Linked DNA regions of Homo sapiens: all the other regions are linked to region 2. Evidence: promoter capture Hi-C in 16 types of primary human blood cells and fetal thymus (Javierre and others, 2016). All regions are on one chromosome and are shown on one strand. The core of a region is centred on a gene start or on the middle of the fragment in contact, and the rest is flanking DNA. Distances in the headings are between cores, read along the strand shown.

Region 1 (2,841 bases), core at 236-2,735, 240 kb before region 2:
CAAAAGCAATACCTACCTTCACTATATGCAATGCATGATTCTATTCTATCTCATTTTAAGAAAGTGCATCTAGTTATAATTCACAAAATTGCATTCAAGACCAAATATATACTAGAAATGCGATTTATTTTCATCCATTGGCAGCATTTGCTGATGATCACATGATGGTAGCATTTACATTTGATTGCTCCATCAGCCAGTGCAAGAGCTCCTTGCATTGTATTTGACTTTCCTGGTGGTCTCTTTTTCATGTTGGCTTCTTTTTGGTGCAACATAGCCATGTTTAGATGAGTATATACCGTTATATTAATAAAATAAATGTCAAATCAAAAGATTTATATGGGTAATTTTTAAATTGTTTCAATGTCAGGAGCACCTAGAAGTCAGGATACTCTTTTCAGAATACTTTAGATTTGGTAAATTTAAGGTCATGATTGACAAATAGTGTGTGTATTTATTTAATGAAAATACATTCCCTATGCCCCCCAAGAATGCTGGTTTTTAAATTGTTCATTTGATATTTTCTAGGTCTCACTGGCAGCAAGCAGAGGCAGTTTCCTATGATTAACAGATATTTACTGGATGTAAAAAGTAAAATTTAGAAGTTCTATCCATTTAAGTTTTGATTAATTGGAGAAAGGCTGATTTGTTGATGTCTTTTTAATTTTAGCTCTTTGAATTTTAGCTCAAGGAATGTCATTTGTCTTCAGGGGCATATTTTGAGAGGCAAATAATGGACACTGTGTTCCTAGCCCCTGGGTTCTACCTGCACATCCCACTCATGCAATTTAAAGACATCTCAGTGCTGTTTGGTTTGTTAATTCTATTATGAGATACGTATTCTAGAGAAATCATCAGAATTACAGAAAATGATTCATGTGCACAGTGGTCATCATTTCATTATTCATAATGATGTAAAATTGGGAACAACCTTAATTTCCAATGCTGGGGGATGGTTCAGTAAGCCATGCTGTGTCCATAAGAATAGAGATGTCCCTGATGTGCTGTTAGAGAATAAAGGCAGGAGGCTGAACTGAGCACAGAATTTACAATCTACATCGTTAAAACATGAAATCTGGCAGTAAATAACCAAAGTGCAAATGGCAATACCTTCTATATTCTAAAACATTGATTCTCAACTGAGATAATTTTTTTTCTGTCGGGGGGACATTTGACAATGACTGAAGACAGTTTTTGGATGCCATGAGTGGAGTGAAATGCTACTGGCATCTACTGGGTGGAGACCAGTGATTTTCCTTATCATCCTGCAATGCACAGGATGGACCCCACAGGATGGCAAAGAATTAACTATCCCAAAATGTCAATACTGCTGAGATTAAGAAACCCTACTCTAGGAGCATGAGCTGTTTTAGTTTTCTTCACCATACTTTTATCAGCATTTTTCAAATGTTTGTTTTTAACAATAAGCATATAGTACCCTTATTATTAGAAAAATACATGAGTAATATGTGATTAAGAAGTCTGTCTAACTAATAAGTTTAAAAGAGCTCATTTAGTAAGGGCAAAGTAAAAATTCTAAGAGATAAATCACTGTGTTTTGATTCAACTGGCAGAGTTTTGTTTTGTTTTCTGCCTTTGTGGTATATAAATGTCTTCCAATTGACGGCATCTTAGATGAATGAAATACAGCATTTTCCAGCTGGGGAGAGGTTTTCTCTGGAGAGCTATTCCTACATTCCTAGCACTCCTTCCTTCAGGTTCTGAGTTTCTGTGGTGTTTTTTCCTTTTCTAATTGGTTTTCTTCTTACCTCTCTAATGCTATTTTCCAGACTTTCCTCTCTGGTTTTCAGCAGGTGAAGTAGCAGAGTTCCCAGGGTTTTGTGCTCAGATCTGTAGGTATCTGTTTCTGTGGAGGCTCCTTTGGGACTGTTACCCCTCTCTGGGCTCATTCCTTCATAAAGCTGCAGAGCTGACATGCAACTTCAAGTCTGTGAATTATTCCTTCTGAATATTTTTTGAATGTGTTCTTTCTCTATTGATACTGACCCCATCATGGTTGAGGCTTTTTTCGTCATTCTCCCTTACTATACCAATCAGTTTTCTTAATTTAGTTTTTTTTTAAATTAAAAGTTTCTATTTGAACGTAATAGTAGACTCACATGTAGTTGTATGAAACAATACTGAGAGATCCCATGTACCCTTTACCCAGTTTCCCTAGTGGTAACATCTTGAAAACTAATGTACAGTATCACAACCAGGATATTGACGTTAGAGTCAAGATACAAACCATTCTCCTTACCACAAGGAACCTTCAGGTTGCCCTTTAAGGGCCACATCTCCTCCTTAACCCTGGCAACTACTAATTTGTTACCCACTTCTATAACTTTGTCATTTAAAAAATATTTTATAAATGAACATAGAGTATATGACCATATGAGATTGGCTGTTTTTCTCCACTCGTCGTAATTCTCTGGTGATTCATCCAGGTTGTTGAGTGTATCCATAGTTCATTTGTTTTCAGTTGCTGAGTAGTATTCCGTAGTGTTGATGTACCACAGTTTGTTTAACCATCTATCCACTGAAGAATATCTAGGTTGTTTCTAATTTTTGGCTATTATGAATAAAGCAGCTATAAATATTTGTATACAGGTTTTTTGTGTGAATATATGTCTTCATTTTTCTATAATAAATTTCTGGGAGTACAGTTACTGCGCTATATGGTAGTTGCATGCTTAGTTTTTAAAGAAATTGCAAATTGTTTTCCAGAGGATTTGTACCAATGGCAATATATCGGTGACCCAGATTCTTCACATCCTTGCCAGCATTTGGTGGTGTCATTCTTTTCTTTTTTTTTTTTTTTTTAGGATAGATATATTTTAT
Region 2 (3,229 bases), core at 100-2,599:
AAACGCCGCTCCCCGGCTGGCGCGGGTGTGCGCCAACTCCAACCTGCGCGCAAGTCTGCCGGTGCGCGCTCCAGTCCCACAGCTCCGAGTCCCCGCAGTGAAAGGAGGGGGCGGTGCACCGGGGTAGATGGGCCCCTGAGGACTCCCGGGGTTCAGTTTTCCGCGGAACTCTGCCTGCAGCAGTCTGGCGGGAACGTGCTGCGGAGCTCATCCCATCTTGGCTTCTCCAAAAGGGTTTATACGGACTGGCGAGTCTTTGCCCTGCCTCCTCCAAGTGTCTGGCACCAGTTCTACCGTTTGAAATGGTCTTGGACTGGGATACGAGGCCTCAAAGTCAGAAGACGGCAGGGCAGGATGGAGGCGGGCAGAGAAGGCTGGCTGACCTGTCCTCCAGCCCCTATGCAAACCTGGAAGGGGAACAGGGAGAAGGACCACCGATGCCACCCCGAGCCCGGCTCTGGCCTGCAGGCTTGGCAGGCGCGGAGGCGGAGGCTGCCAGGTCCCCGGGAGGCAAACGCAGCGCCGCAGTGATTGCTGGCGGAGAGCCCAGAGCCGCGCGTCTGAGCGACAAGCTGCCTATGAGTGTGGCTCCTGCGCTCACCAAGATTCGCAGGGAGCTCAGCCCTGTCCCCAGTGATTGAGCAGAGGCTCATCCAGAGGGGTCAGGTGGAGGGCTCAAATGGAGCTTCTCCTGGAACGAGGGGCCAAGTCACCAGGGTGGCTGAGGAAAGTGTCCTCAAAGCTTAGAGACTGTCACTTCCCAGGTGAATCAGCTAGCCAGGTAACTGAGCTAGATATTTTGTGGGGGTGTTTCCTAAACACAGCCTCAGGAAAGTTGTTTTCGGGACACCTGGACCAGGGAGTCGTCGCCTCTGGCTTCTCGGTAGCTGGAGCGCGGCCCGGAGCGCGGCGCTGGCACATCGCCCCCACACATGACCGTTTCCCATTGCCACAGGCAAGCCGCCTCTGCAGAGCTGTCTCAGGGCTCTGGGCTTCATTCCCTGGAAGTTGATTGTCCTCCACTCCAGCTGTTTCCCAAATCCTTCCTTCCTCCCAGCACCCCTCGTGCAACGACGATTCCAGCTGCGGACCGCATCTGTGTCAGTTACTTCCAAGCCACCTACTGCCCCCTCGCGGAGTGCGTGGGGCTCCCGGCTCGCAGACTCCCACGGCAAGTAGCAAGCAGCAAAAGGCGTGGTAGCTGCGGCGGTGGAATGAGACAGTTGTCAACAGCTGGCGCAGCTGCCGCGCTGCGCACCGGGACTGGCGAGTACGCAGCCCAGGTACTGCCCCTTCCCAGTGACGTCTCTGCAGGGGGTTATAAAAGCCTCGTGCGCAGCTAACTCGCGAGCTGAGCAACCCGAACCGAGAGGTGCCCGCGAAACTGCAGGCGGCGGCAGCGGCAGCAAAAGAGAAGGAAAAATCTCCAGCTGGATACGAAGCTCCAGAATCCTGGCCATAGGCTCAGAACTTTTACAGGTCGCGCTGCAATGGGCCCCCACTTCGCTCCTAAGTCCTCACGCAGCACAGGGCTTTGCCTTTCCCTGCGGAGGAAGGAGAAATAGGAGTTGCAGGCAGCAGCAGGTGCATAAATGCGGGGGATCTCTTGCTTCCTAGAACTGTGACCGGTGGAATTTCTTTCCCTTTTTCAGTTTACCGCAAGAGAGATGCTGTCTCCAGACTTCTGAACTCAAACGTCTCCTGAAGCTTGAAAGTGGAGGAATTCAGAGCCACCGCGGGCAGGCGGGCAGTGCATCCAGAAGCGTTTATATTCTGAGCGCCAGTTCAGCTTTCAAAAAGAGTGCTGCCCAGAAAAAGCCTTCCACCCTCCTGTCTGGCTTTAGAAGGACCCTGAGCCCCAGGCGCCAGCCACAGGACTCTGCTGCAGAGGGGGGTTGTGTACAGATAGTAGGGCTTTACCGCCTAGCTTCGAAATGGATAACGTCCTCCCGGTGGACTCAGACCTCTCCCCAAACATCTCCACTAACACCTCGGAACCCAATCAGTTCGTGCAACCAGCCTGGCAAATTGTCCTTTGGGCAGCTGCCTACACGGTCATTGTGGTGACCTCTGTGGTGGGCAACGTGGTAGTGATGTGGATCATCTTAGCCCACAAAAGAATGAGGACAGTGACGAACTATTTTCTGGTGAACCTGGCCTTCGCGGAGGCCTCCATGGCTGCATTCAATACAGTGGTGAACTTCACCTATGCTGTCCACAACGAATGGTACTACGGCCTGTTCTACTGCAAGTTCCACAACTTCTTTCCCATCGCCGCTGTCTTCGCCAGTATCTACTCCATGACGGCTGTGGCCTTTGATAGGTGAGATTAGCCTTTGTGAAAAGGCGAGAAAGTGCTCATAGAGGACCACGGCATTGCTGTGAGGTTTGGAACTGGGTGGGGTATGGGTCAAGTGGAAGATTGGCCACTCTGAGGGTTTTTTTACTGATCAACTGAGTCATTTGTTGATGGGGAACTTCATCTTATGTATTTCAACTTTTTTTCCTCTTTTTTACCCATCACTCTCTCTCTTCCTTTCAACACACATCCCCCTTTTCTTCATTTAACTCCCCTTTCTTCATCTCTTCTCCACTCATCTTCCTGACACTTTCAACTTCTGCTTTGCTCCTTTCCATATATTCCTTCTCCCCTTTACCCTTGCAGGCTGCAAACAATACCTAGGGTTTGGTCAAAGGACTAGACCCTGGAAGGGGCTTTGTAAATTCCTCCAGGCCTGTTTTTCTGTCAGACAGCCTCTTGTTGCCTTCCTGTTTTAAGTACACCTAGAGGATTCTGGGACTTTCTGCTCCCACTGCAACTCTCCAGTTTGTTGTTGTAGTTGTTGTTGTTGTTTGGTTGGTTGGTTCGTTGGTTTGTGTTTGTTTGTTTGTTTGTTTTGGATGTGAAAGAGCATTTCATCAGTATCATAAGATACTCAGAATTCTAATGCAGTTTACTCTGTAATGCTAGGAATTCTCATTCAGGAATGAGAGACAGTTATGCTATCCTTAAGAAACTCCACGGATAGGGATCCAGGAAGCTTACCCAAGAGGTGTTCTAAATTTCTCCTGCAATGTAAAATGTATGTATTTAGCCTGTCTCTATCCACAGAGAAACATGCTTGGCAAAGGCATTTGAGAGCTCTTCTGTTCCGGCAACCAACAGGTTAGGGTTCCCAAAGCTGACTGAAAGTGAAAAGGTTGGCATTTCAAACACTGGGGATGGTAT
Region 3 (2,898 bases), core at 171-2,670, 170 kb before region 2:
TAGCAGGCAAAATTTCCACCTGTAGTCCTAGCAAAAGAGACTTCTAAGCCTTCAGTGTTATTGTCTTCTTAGAGCAGAGAGGAGAAAAAAATCCATATCCCCCCTCACAAATCCAGGGAGGAGAGTAACATCATTCAGAAAATAGAAATTGCCTGAGGGTTTTGTTTGCACAGTTGATGCAATCAACCACCCAGCCTCTTTAACTTGTCTGAGCTCACAATGATACTACTTCTGCCCAGGAATTAATTGCTGATTTTTCATTATTATTGAAATGTTCTGAAGTCATTGCGCTGCCAGGTCCTGCAAACTGTGAGCACCAATAATGCCCTGTAATGGCAGGAATGTTTGTTCAGAGCCATGACCTCCTTCCTCTCTAAGCAGTCATCCTGGGGTATCAGATCCTGGTGTTCCAGCATAGGACATATTCCCCCATTTTCAGCATTCTTAAAGAAAAGAAATTCCAAACAAGAATTTCATGTACCACCAAACTAAGCTTCATAAATGAGGGAGAAACAGAATCTTTTCCAGACAAGCTTACCACTAGACCAACCTTACTAGCGATCCTTAAGGGAATTCTAAACATAGAAATGAAAGAACAATACCTGCTACCAAAAAACACACAAGTGCATAGCCCACAGACCCTATAAAGCAACCATGCAATAGAAACTATAAAGCTAAGAGCTTCATGACAGAATCAAAACCTCACATATCAATATTAACCTGAAATGTGAATTGTCTAAATGTTCCACATGAAAGGCACAGAGTGGCAAGTTGGCTTAAAAAAACAAGGTCCATTCATCTCCTGTCTTCAAGAGACTCATCTCACATGTTACTCCCATAGGCTGAAAGTAAAGGGTTAGAAAAAGACCTGTCATGCAAATGTAACAAATAAAAAAGCAGGGATCACGATTCTTATATCAGATAAAATAGACTTTAAACCAATAACAGTAACAAAGAACAAAGAAGGACATTACATAATGATAAAGGGTTCAATTCAACAACAGCACTTAACTGTCTTAAATATATACACACTCCATCCACACTGGAGCCCAGATTCATAAACAAGTACTTCTGGATCTATGAAAAGACTTAGCCACACAATAATAGTAGAGGACGTCAATACCTCACTGACAGCATTAGGCAGATCATCAAGGGAGAAAACAAATAAGTTTTGGGCTTAAATTTTACATTTGACTAATTGGACCTAATAGACATCTCTACAGAATATTCCACCCATCAATCACAGAGTGTACATTTTTCTCATCTGCACATGGAACATACGCCACGATTGACCACATGCTTAGCCATAAAGCCAGTCTCAGTAAATTTTAAACAAATCAAAGTCATACCAAGTGGAATAAATATAGAAATCAATACCAAGAAGATCTCTGAAAACATTGAAATTAAATAGTTGATCCTGAATGACATTTTGGTAAGCAGTAAAATTAAGGCAGAAAAAAATTATTTGAAATAAATGAAAACAGAGACACAACATACCAAAATTCCTGGGATGCAGCAAAAGTGGTATTAAGAGGATACTTTATAGTACTGAACAGCTATCTCAAAAAGTTAGAAAGGGTTCAAATTAATGATGTAACATTACACTTACAAAATCTAGAAAAACAAGAACAAACAAACCCTAAAGCTAGTAGAAGTAAAGAAATAACTAAAATCAGAGCAGAACTCAATGAAATAGAGACCCAAAAGGATAAACAAGATTGATAGACCACTAGCTAGATTAAAAAGGGAAAAAAGAGAGAAGAACCAAATAAGCACAATCAGAAATGATGAAGGTGACATTCCAACCAATCTCACAGAAATATAAAAGTTTCTAAGAGACTATTATGAATACCTCTATGCAAACAAATCAGAAAATGTAGAGAAAATAGATAAATTCCTGGAAACACACTATTTCCAAATATTGAATTAGGAAGAAATTGAAACTCTGAACAGACCAAAATAAAGGTGTGAAATTGAATCAGTAATTTAAAAAAAAACTACCCACCAAAAATAAAGCCTTGGACAAGATGGATTTCACAGCTGCATTCTACCAGATGTACAAAGAGGAGTTGATACCACTCCTACTGGAACTATGTCAAAAAAATCAGGGAGAAAGGACTCCCCCAATATTCATTCTATGAAGCCAGCAATACTCCAATACAAAAACCTGGTGAAAACACAGTAAGAAAAGAAAACTACAGTCCAATATCCCTGACGAGCATAAATGTAAAAATCCTCAACAAAATACTGGCAAACTGAACCTGGCAGCATATCAAAAAGTTAATACATCATAATCAAGTAAGCTTCATTCCTGGGATGAAAGGTTGGTTCAACAAATGCAAATTGATAAATTCATCACATAAACAGAATTAAAAACAAAAGCCATATCATCATCTCAATAGATGTGGAAAAAACTTTGGACAAAATCCAACATCCCTTCATGACAAAAACCCTCAAGAAACTAGGCATCGAAGGACAATTCTTCAAAATAGGTGGCTCACGCCTGTAATCCCAGCACTTTGGGAGGCCGAGGTGGGCGGATCACGAGGTCAGGAGATCAAGACCATCCTGGCTAACACGGTGAAACCCTGTCTCTACTAAAAATACAAAAAATTAGCCGGGTGTAGTGGCGAGCACCTGTAGTCCCAGCTACTCGGGAGGCTGAGGCAGGAGAATGGCATGAACCCGGGAGGCGGAGCTTGCAGTGAGTGGAGATCGTGCCACTGCACTCCAGCCTGGGCAATAGAGCCAGACTCCGTCTCAAAAAAAAAAAAAAAAAAAAAAAAAATCAGAGGCACCTATGACATACCCATAGCCAATATCATAATGAAGGGCAAAAAGCTGGAAGCATTCCTCTTGAGAGCTGGAACAAGACAAGGATGCCCCCTCTCACCACTC
Region 4 (3,089 bases), core at 421-2,920, 150 kb before region 2:
CTCAGTGTCCTCCTGGGTAAAATGGAGATATCAGTAAATGCCTCCACAGAGTTGTCTAAGGATTTACTGAGATTATGCATGTAAATAATTGGCACATTGCCTGTGAAACAGATATTCGGTAGGTGTGGATATGCCCTTCTCCTCCAGGATGAAAGCCATCACATGTACAGGTGGTCAATAAAACCATTCTGTATCCTTTGAAGAACAGACGAGTGCCTGATTCGTCTTCCTCTTGCATTTGTGAGAGCTGTGTCTCTGCCTGCTGCCCCAGGCCCCTGCCCTGGCTTTCACCTAAATAAATGAATGTAAAGTTTAGGCTCCACATCTTAATCTATTTGGGCTGCTATAACAGAACACCTAATACCAGAAAGTAGGTAGCTTATAAACACCAGAAATTTATTTCTAACTGTTCTGGAGGCTAGGAAGTCCAAGATCAAGAAACTAACAGATTTGGTGTCTGGTGAGGGCCCATTCTCTGGTTCATAGATGGTACCTTCTCACTGTGTCCTCGCATGGCAGAAGGGCAAATAATTCTCTTGGCCCCTTTTATAAGGGCACTAATACCATTCATGAGGCTCAATTCTCATGACCTAATGATCTCCCTAAAAATCCCACTTTCTAATCCTATCATCTTGGCAGGTAGGATTTCAACATATGCATTTTGTGGGGGCACAAACAGTCAAAGCACAGCATCCCACCATAAGCTTACCTGCCAACCTGGTCTTTAGTCATTCATTCCTTTATTTAACCATTTCTTCAACAAATGAATGGACAAATATCTGTGGAGAACATGAGCAAGGCTGTGAGGGCACAGTTCCTTATCTTCACAGAGCTTTCAGTCTAGTGCAAGATACACATAAGTAAACAGAAATTTGCAATATCATGTACTAATGCTATTATGGGGGAAATATAGGAAACTATGGAAGCAGGCCAAAGGGTAACTAACCAGGATCGAAAGGCCAAAGGGAGCATCCCTGAGCATTGTGATCAGATGGGAGGGGTGAGTAAGATGTCACCATTTGAAGAGGCAGGTGGGAGGAAGAGAGGAGAAAAGGGAACTCCATGTGCCAAAGTGCAGAGCTGAGAGAAATGATGTGTGCAAGGAGATGGAAGGACTTCATAGTAGGTGCAGACTACAGAGCACTGCAAGAGGTAAGCAGATATGCGGTTGTGGTGTCAGTGTCCACATGCACAGATGGTACCTAGAGGGCAGAGAAGGGAATGGGATGATAGGAGTTCAGGGAGATCTTTATCGTACACAGGACTGCCACCTATTTATCATTCACTCACCACCCCACTCTTTTTCCTATGCTCTATCTTCCTTCTCTGTCTTTTACCCTTCACTTGTACACTGAAAAGAAATGGATTCTTGTCAGTTGCTTTAAGCATGGAGCTGAAAGTCCATCTACGAGGATCTTTATGCTATGCTTATACTCTCCTGTGACAATGGGTAAAGTTTTGTGTGGAGTTATGGGCAGACTGCAGAGATCACCGGCTCATCCTTCTTGGCTGCCTTATGCCTGTGAAAGAAAAAAAGAACATTCAAAAACTTAGAAATCTTACACATACAATTCATTCTAAACTGTGTTGGAAAGACCCTGCACTCAACAGTGAACATGGCTGGGCCTTGTGAACAGGTCAGAGGGTCAGAGGGTGCCAAGCTCTCATTGGAGATCTATCTCCTAGAATGCCTGCCCCTCTGAGTGCTCGATGCATGGTCACGTTCCTGCCTATAGTGGCTTGGGTTAGCACAATAAGCCCCTATTTTTTAGAAAAGTAAACTGAGACACAACACTTGCATATTAGCCACATTTTTGTTTTTCTTATTTTACTTATTACCAGTTATCTGTGACTAAACCAAAATAGCATAGACCCACTCCACATGTAACATGTATCAGTTGATATAAATTAAGGTTTTATTATTGATTTAACTACAGCTGTCTTAATGATAAGTTAATGGTGGAAAGTGTAAGTGTATTTGTGGTTTCCCTCTAAGTAATGTATATCACCTCATTAGTTCAACATGAATTCATCTACCATAAATTGAGGGCTTACTCTGTATAAAATGTTCTGCCAAACACAGGAATGAATGTTCCATGGCATTTGACCTCAGAGAATATACCGTCTGGAGGGAAAGATGAACACATGCATAACTAGCCAATTTCCAAGTCATTCTGTGGTCACACCAACCTGCTTGTGATTGGATTCCCAAATTACACCTCTGGACCTTTCTGTCTCTCTTCTGTCGGCTCAGAACCATCTCTGTGCCTTGCTTCCAGGCCTGCCCTAACATTTCTGCAGCCCAAGGCAAGAGCATAAATGGAAGCACACCTATCAAACATGCATACATTTAAAAGTTATAAATCAAGCCAACAAACTGTTATGTAAAAATGCATTCTGTCTTCCTATGTGACAAATATATCTTCATAATGACCTGAAGGCCAAGCTCAGATTTAGAATTTTCAGGCTCCTTGGATTTTTCCATGCTGGAACTTACTGCTGTAGAATATGCCAGCCCGCTCCACTGCTCTCTGCTCCCTGGCTTTCTCCAATTCAACAAACGCTTTTGGGTATAGATGTATGGACCACTTAATCTAAGCTCCACTCACCCTCCCCAACATCACCCCAAAGCTTGGGCCTAGGGTACACACACTATCAGCACATTCTGGCCTTTAAGAGTACGGACTTGGGGAAAAGTCCAGTGCAGGCCTGGAAGGGAGTTTGGGGATGTTTGGGTAGGGAACTCTGGGGCACTGGGTGGTTGAAACCGGTTCTAGAAAGCAGAAACATAGGGTGGTGCAGAGCTAGAGAAAGGACACAGCAGGATCCTGAAAGCATGGGGTACCCTTCTTGGCCCATGTAAGGACAGTACTGCCAACCCCATTCTTTACTTGTGTGGTGAACTTGGGCTTATTCCTCAAGATCTAATGCAAGTATTTCCTCCTGGCTAAATTCCTATCTTTGTGACATCACAGTCACTATACCTTACACATCCCTTTTGACTGAGGGTTCTGGAAAGCAGAGACTATTTCTGTTTTTCATCACATTTTTGCCCCCAGCACCTACATAGGGGTTAACATTGGAAGAGC
Region 5 (3,132 bases), core at 276-2,775, 190 kb before region 2:
AATCCTAGGTTCAAGGTCACACTGGGCACTTGACCTCCAAGATGCCCACTTGGGCCTCTTCCAAGTGTACTTTTGTTTCCTTCCTTTTGTTCCTGCTCTAAAGCTTTTTAATAAACTTCACTCCTGCTCTGAAACTTGCCTTGGTCTCTTTTTCTGCCTTATGCCCCTCAGTCAAATTGTTTCTTCTGAGGAACAAGAATTGAGGTTGCTGCAGTTCCAAAGGAATTCACCACCAGTAACATATTTTGGTGCCGGGTGACATGGATAACTTCCACCACTTTCCTAGTGGTAAGAGATCTCTACACCTCACCTTCTTCAGCTAGAGGCATTCAGCCCCTGTATGCAGTTTTCTTCTCCCCTTTCTCTCTCCTCTTTACTAACCAACCTCCAGAACAATTCTTCTTGACCGTAAGTGACTCTGCCCACCTCCTGGTGGGTTTCTCAGCTCGTTCTGATGGGTGGCTCACAGGGGTGGGAAGGAAATTAGGTTCTGCACCAAATAGATCTAAGGTACTAAAATGACCCTCCTGGACAGGAGGCTCAAGTGGTAGGACTAAGGCCTAAAACCATGCAATGTTTTGGGTTTCCTCTGCTTTTTCAACTAAAATCAGCTCTTTCCCAAAGACCTGCACCTCCCATTCTCCTCTTTTCAATGTGTGTATTCCGAGATGGCCTTGCGTACCTGCCAGATCATCCATTTCCAGGGGCAAGTCTCTGTCTTTGCTTTCACTTTGCATGCCATGTGACTTCTTAAACAAATACTCCTTGTTATTCTTGTGCCCACGGCTCTCTGCATATATGCAGCAGCAGAGACATGGGCTCTCTTGTAGATATCCCCTGAAATTGATACTTGTTTTTACCCTAGCAGCTCAAATAACCTCCAGCCCTTCTCCTGCCCATTGGCATATGGCTGGGACAGATACTAATTGGAACTCTGCCTTTGCCAGTTCCTTATGACTTAGTATATGCTTTTTGTTCCTGTTATGCCCCAGGACTGAGTTTTTTGGTGGCTTTCAAAGCAGATTGTCAGCGTGCATACTGGACTTAAATCCTTAAAGGACTCTGGTCCTATAAGGAGTCCACCTATTTTCTTTTCTTCTTTTTTTTTTTTTTTTTTTTTTTGAGACCGAGTCTCACTCTGTCACCTAGGCTGGAGTGCAGTGGTGCAATCTCAGCTCACTGCAAATTCCGCCTCCTGGGTTGATGCCATTCTCCTGCCTCAGCCTCCTGAGTAGCTGGGAATACAGGTGCATGCCACCATGCCAGGCTAATTTTTTTTGTATTTTTAGTAGAGAAGGGGTTTTACTGTGTTAGCCAGGATGGTCTTGATCTCCTGACCTCATGATCCGCCCACCTCAGCCTCCCAAAGTGCTGGGATTATAGGCGTGAGCCACTGTGCCTGGCCTTTTTTTTTTTTTTTTTTCAAGTAAGCACCCCTTTGGGAAGAGGGGAAATTCTTCCTTTGCCATTTTCGAGTTCTTTTCCCACACCTCAAGTCCTCCAGACATTACTACTTTATGTCCAGAGGGCAAATAAATGTTTCCCTCTTGAATCCAAGGGCTGCTGTTTTCACGAGCATGTGAACACTTCCCATGAGTATTGCTCTTACTTTCTCTCACTTCCTCCTGTAGACTCCACTTCTCTTAATCTCTTACACACCCTTATCATGCATCACAACCTTCAAGGTCATATCCCAAGGGAGTGGAGAGGGAAGTACAGCCTCCTTTTGGCAGTTAGCTTTAAAAAACTGGCTTCTCATCTACTTACAAGAACATAGGAAATGGAAATCTAAGAAAAGAGATAATCATCTTATTACCAAAATGCTGTGAGTGAGAGTCACTATAAGGCCAAGGAGATAAGGCTCTAGTCAGGCCCAAGGCTGCACATGCAAGAGACTCACAGAACAGAAATGAAGGGTGGTCTCAGCCTAATGGATTACCATTGGAACACAGATGAAAGATTAGGCGGGGTAACCAGTAAGACCAGTTATTTAGGAACCTCAAGGATGAAGAGGGAACCAAATCTTCACTCCAGATCTCCTCTGTTGTCAAGTAATTGTGATGAGATGGGACCAAGGGTACACAGTAAAGCCGGTTCATTCCAGAACTCAAGGACGATGGGAGATGCCCCATTCAGGATAATAAAAAAAAAAAAAAGGGAGGGACACCTTCTTTTTTCTTTTTCCTTTTCTTCTTCCTCTGTTTTTTTCTTCACAGATTGGTAATTGTATCTCCATCCCACAAAACATGCTGCTCAAATCCATCCCCCAAAACTGCAGTTTAATTCCCCCAAACCTTAAAACAAAAAAACTAGATTTCCTTTGTAATATTGCTTGGCTTAAAAATGAACTGGGAGGAAATTACAAAAGCCAGCCTTGGAACCCAGTGTCTTTGTGCAGGAGGTCCTCAGATTAGCCTCCTCAGTCTTTTATAACTGAGAGCAGAATAAGGAGGTCAAGGCTAAGCCTGTTGGGTAATTGGGGAAAATGACATCCTCTCCCTCCAAAACAAAAGATTCACACCTCTTTATTTTGCTTAAGGGACTAATTATCATTCTCCCACCAGTCCCTGGTAATGTCTAAATGCCCCACACCTCTTTGGGGCAAGACTGTGTGTTCCAAGATCAGTGCTCACTTAATATTTACCTGACCTCTGAATTCATCTTTCTAATAGCCCTATTTCTACAAGGAAAGCTACCTAAATTCTTAGCCAATAACTCCAATACTACCTGGACAATACTACCTCAGGGGTTTAGAAGTAGCCCAAACTTATTTGGGCAAGCCCTAGCAAAAATCTAACTGAGCAATCCTCTTGAAGGGGGATAACTTCTACAGTATGTAGATAACCTCCTTATCTGCTCCCCCTTCACAGGACATGCACAGAAACATGCAGTTAAATCCTTAACTCTTTAATAGAAGGAAGATGACTTTCATCTAATTCAAAGCTTATAAAAGTAAAGAGGAATTTTTGGTAAAGAAGGTTATAAAGAAAAGAGATTCCACTTGAAAACCAGCACAAGAAGAGGATGCCCTCTCTCACCACTCCTATTCAACATAGTACTGGAAGTACCAGCCAGGGAAATCAGGCAAGAGAAAGAAATAAAGGGTATTCGAATAGGAAGAGAGGAAGTCAA

Evidence for each region. Contacts are between HindIII fragments. The CHiCAGO score rates a contact against its expected background, and 5 or more counts as called.
Region 1: a fragment that was not itself captured here is called in contact with the fragment with the promoter of TACR1 in region 2 in 3 of 17 cell types (megakaryocytes, erythroblasts and total B cells); the score reaches 8.1 in megakaryocytes.
Region 3: a contact is called between a fragment that was not itself captured here and the fragment with the promoter of TACR1 in region 2, in 3 of 17 cell types (megakaryocytes, total B cells and erythroblasts). The highest score is 9.2, in megakaryocytes.
Region 4: a contact is called between a fragment that was not itself captured here and the fragment with the promoter of TACR1 in region 2, in 1 of 17 cell types (megakaryocytes). The highest score is 6.8, in megakaryocytes.
Region 5: a fragment that was not itself captured here is called in contact with the fragment with the promoter of TACR1 in region 2 in 4 of 17 cell types (megakaryocytes, erythroblasts, total B cells and 1 more); the score reaches 11.9 in megakaryocytes.

The regions. Positions count from the first base shown.
Region 1 is chr2:75,438,285-75,441,125 of GRCh38, reverse strand. No RefSeq gene overlaps it. Among named protein-coding and RNA genes, the nearest start is that of EVA1A-AS, 84 kb to the left of the region's middle. The HindIII fragment of the contact is 3,404 bases long and covers 1-2,841 here.
Region 2 is chr2:75,197,640-75,200,868 of GRCh38, reverse strand. It overlaps TACR1 (tachykinin receptor 1), which reads left to right and starts at 1,349. Exons shown (of 5, transcript NM_001058.4): 1 at 1,349-2,323. The coding sequence starts at 1,935. The region is part of intron 2 of TACR1-AS1 (TACR1 antisense RNA 1); the gene reads right to left. The HindIII fragment of the contact is 965 bases long and covers 745-1,709 here.
Region 3 is chr2:75,364,892-75,367,789 of GRCh38, reverse strand. No RefSeq gene overlaps it. Among named protein-coding and RNA genes, the nearest start is that of EVA1A-AS, 160 kb to the left of the region's middle. The HindIII fragment of the contact is 1,770 bases long and covers 536-2,305 here.
Region 4 is chr2:75,345,044-75,348,132 of GRCh38, reverse strand. LOC105374810 (a long non-coding RNA gene) reads right to left here. Exons shown (of 4, transcript XR_007087112.1): 1 at 2,056-3,089; 2 at 1,291-1,520; 3 at 710-779; 4 at 81-291. Among named protein-coding and RNA genes, the nearest start is that of TACR1, 150 kb to the right of the region's middle. The HindIII fragment of the contact is 1,927 bases long and covers 707-2,633 here.
Region 5 is chr2:75,387,990-75,391,121 of GRCh38, reverse strand. No RefSeq gene overlaps it. Among named protein-coding and RNA genes, the nearest start is that of EVA1A-AS, 130 kb to the left of the region's middle. The HindIII fragment of the contact is 2,840 bases long and covers 106-2,945 here.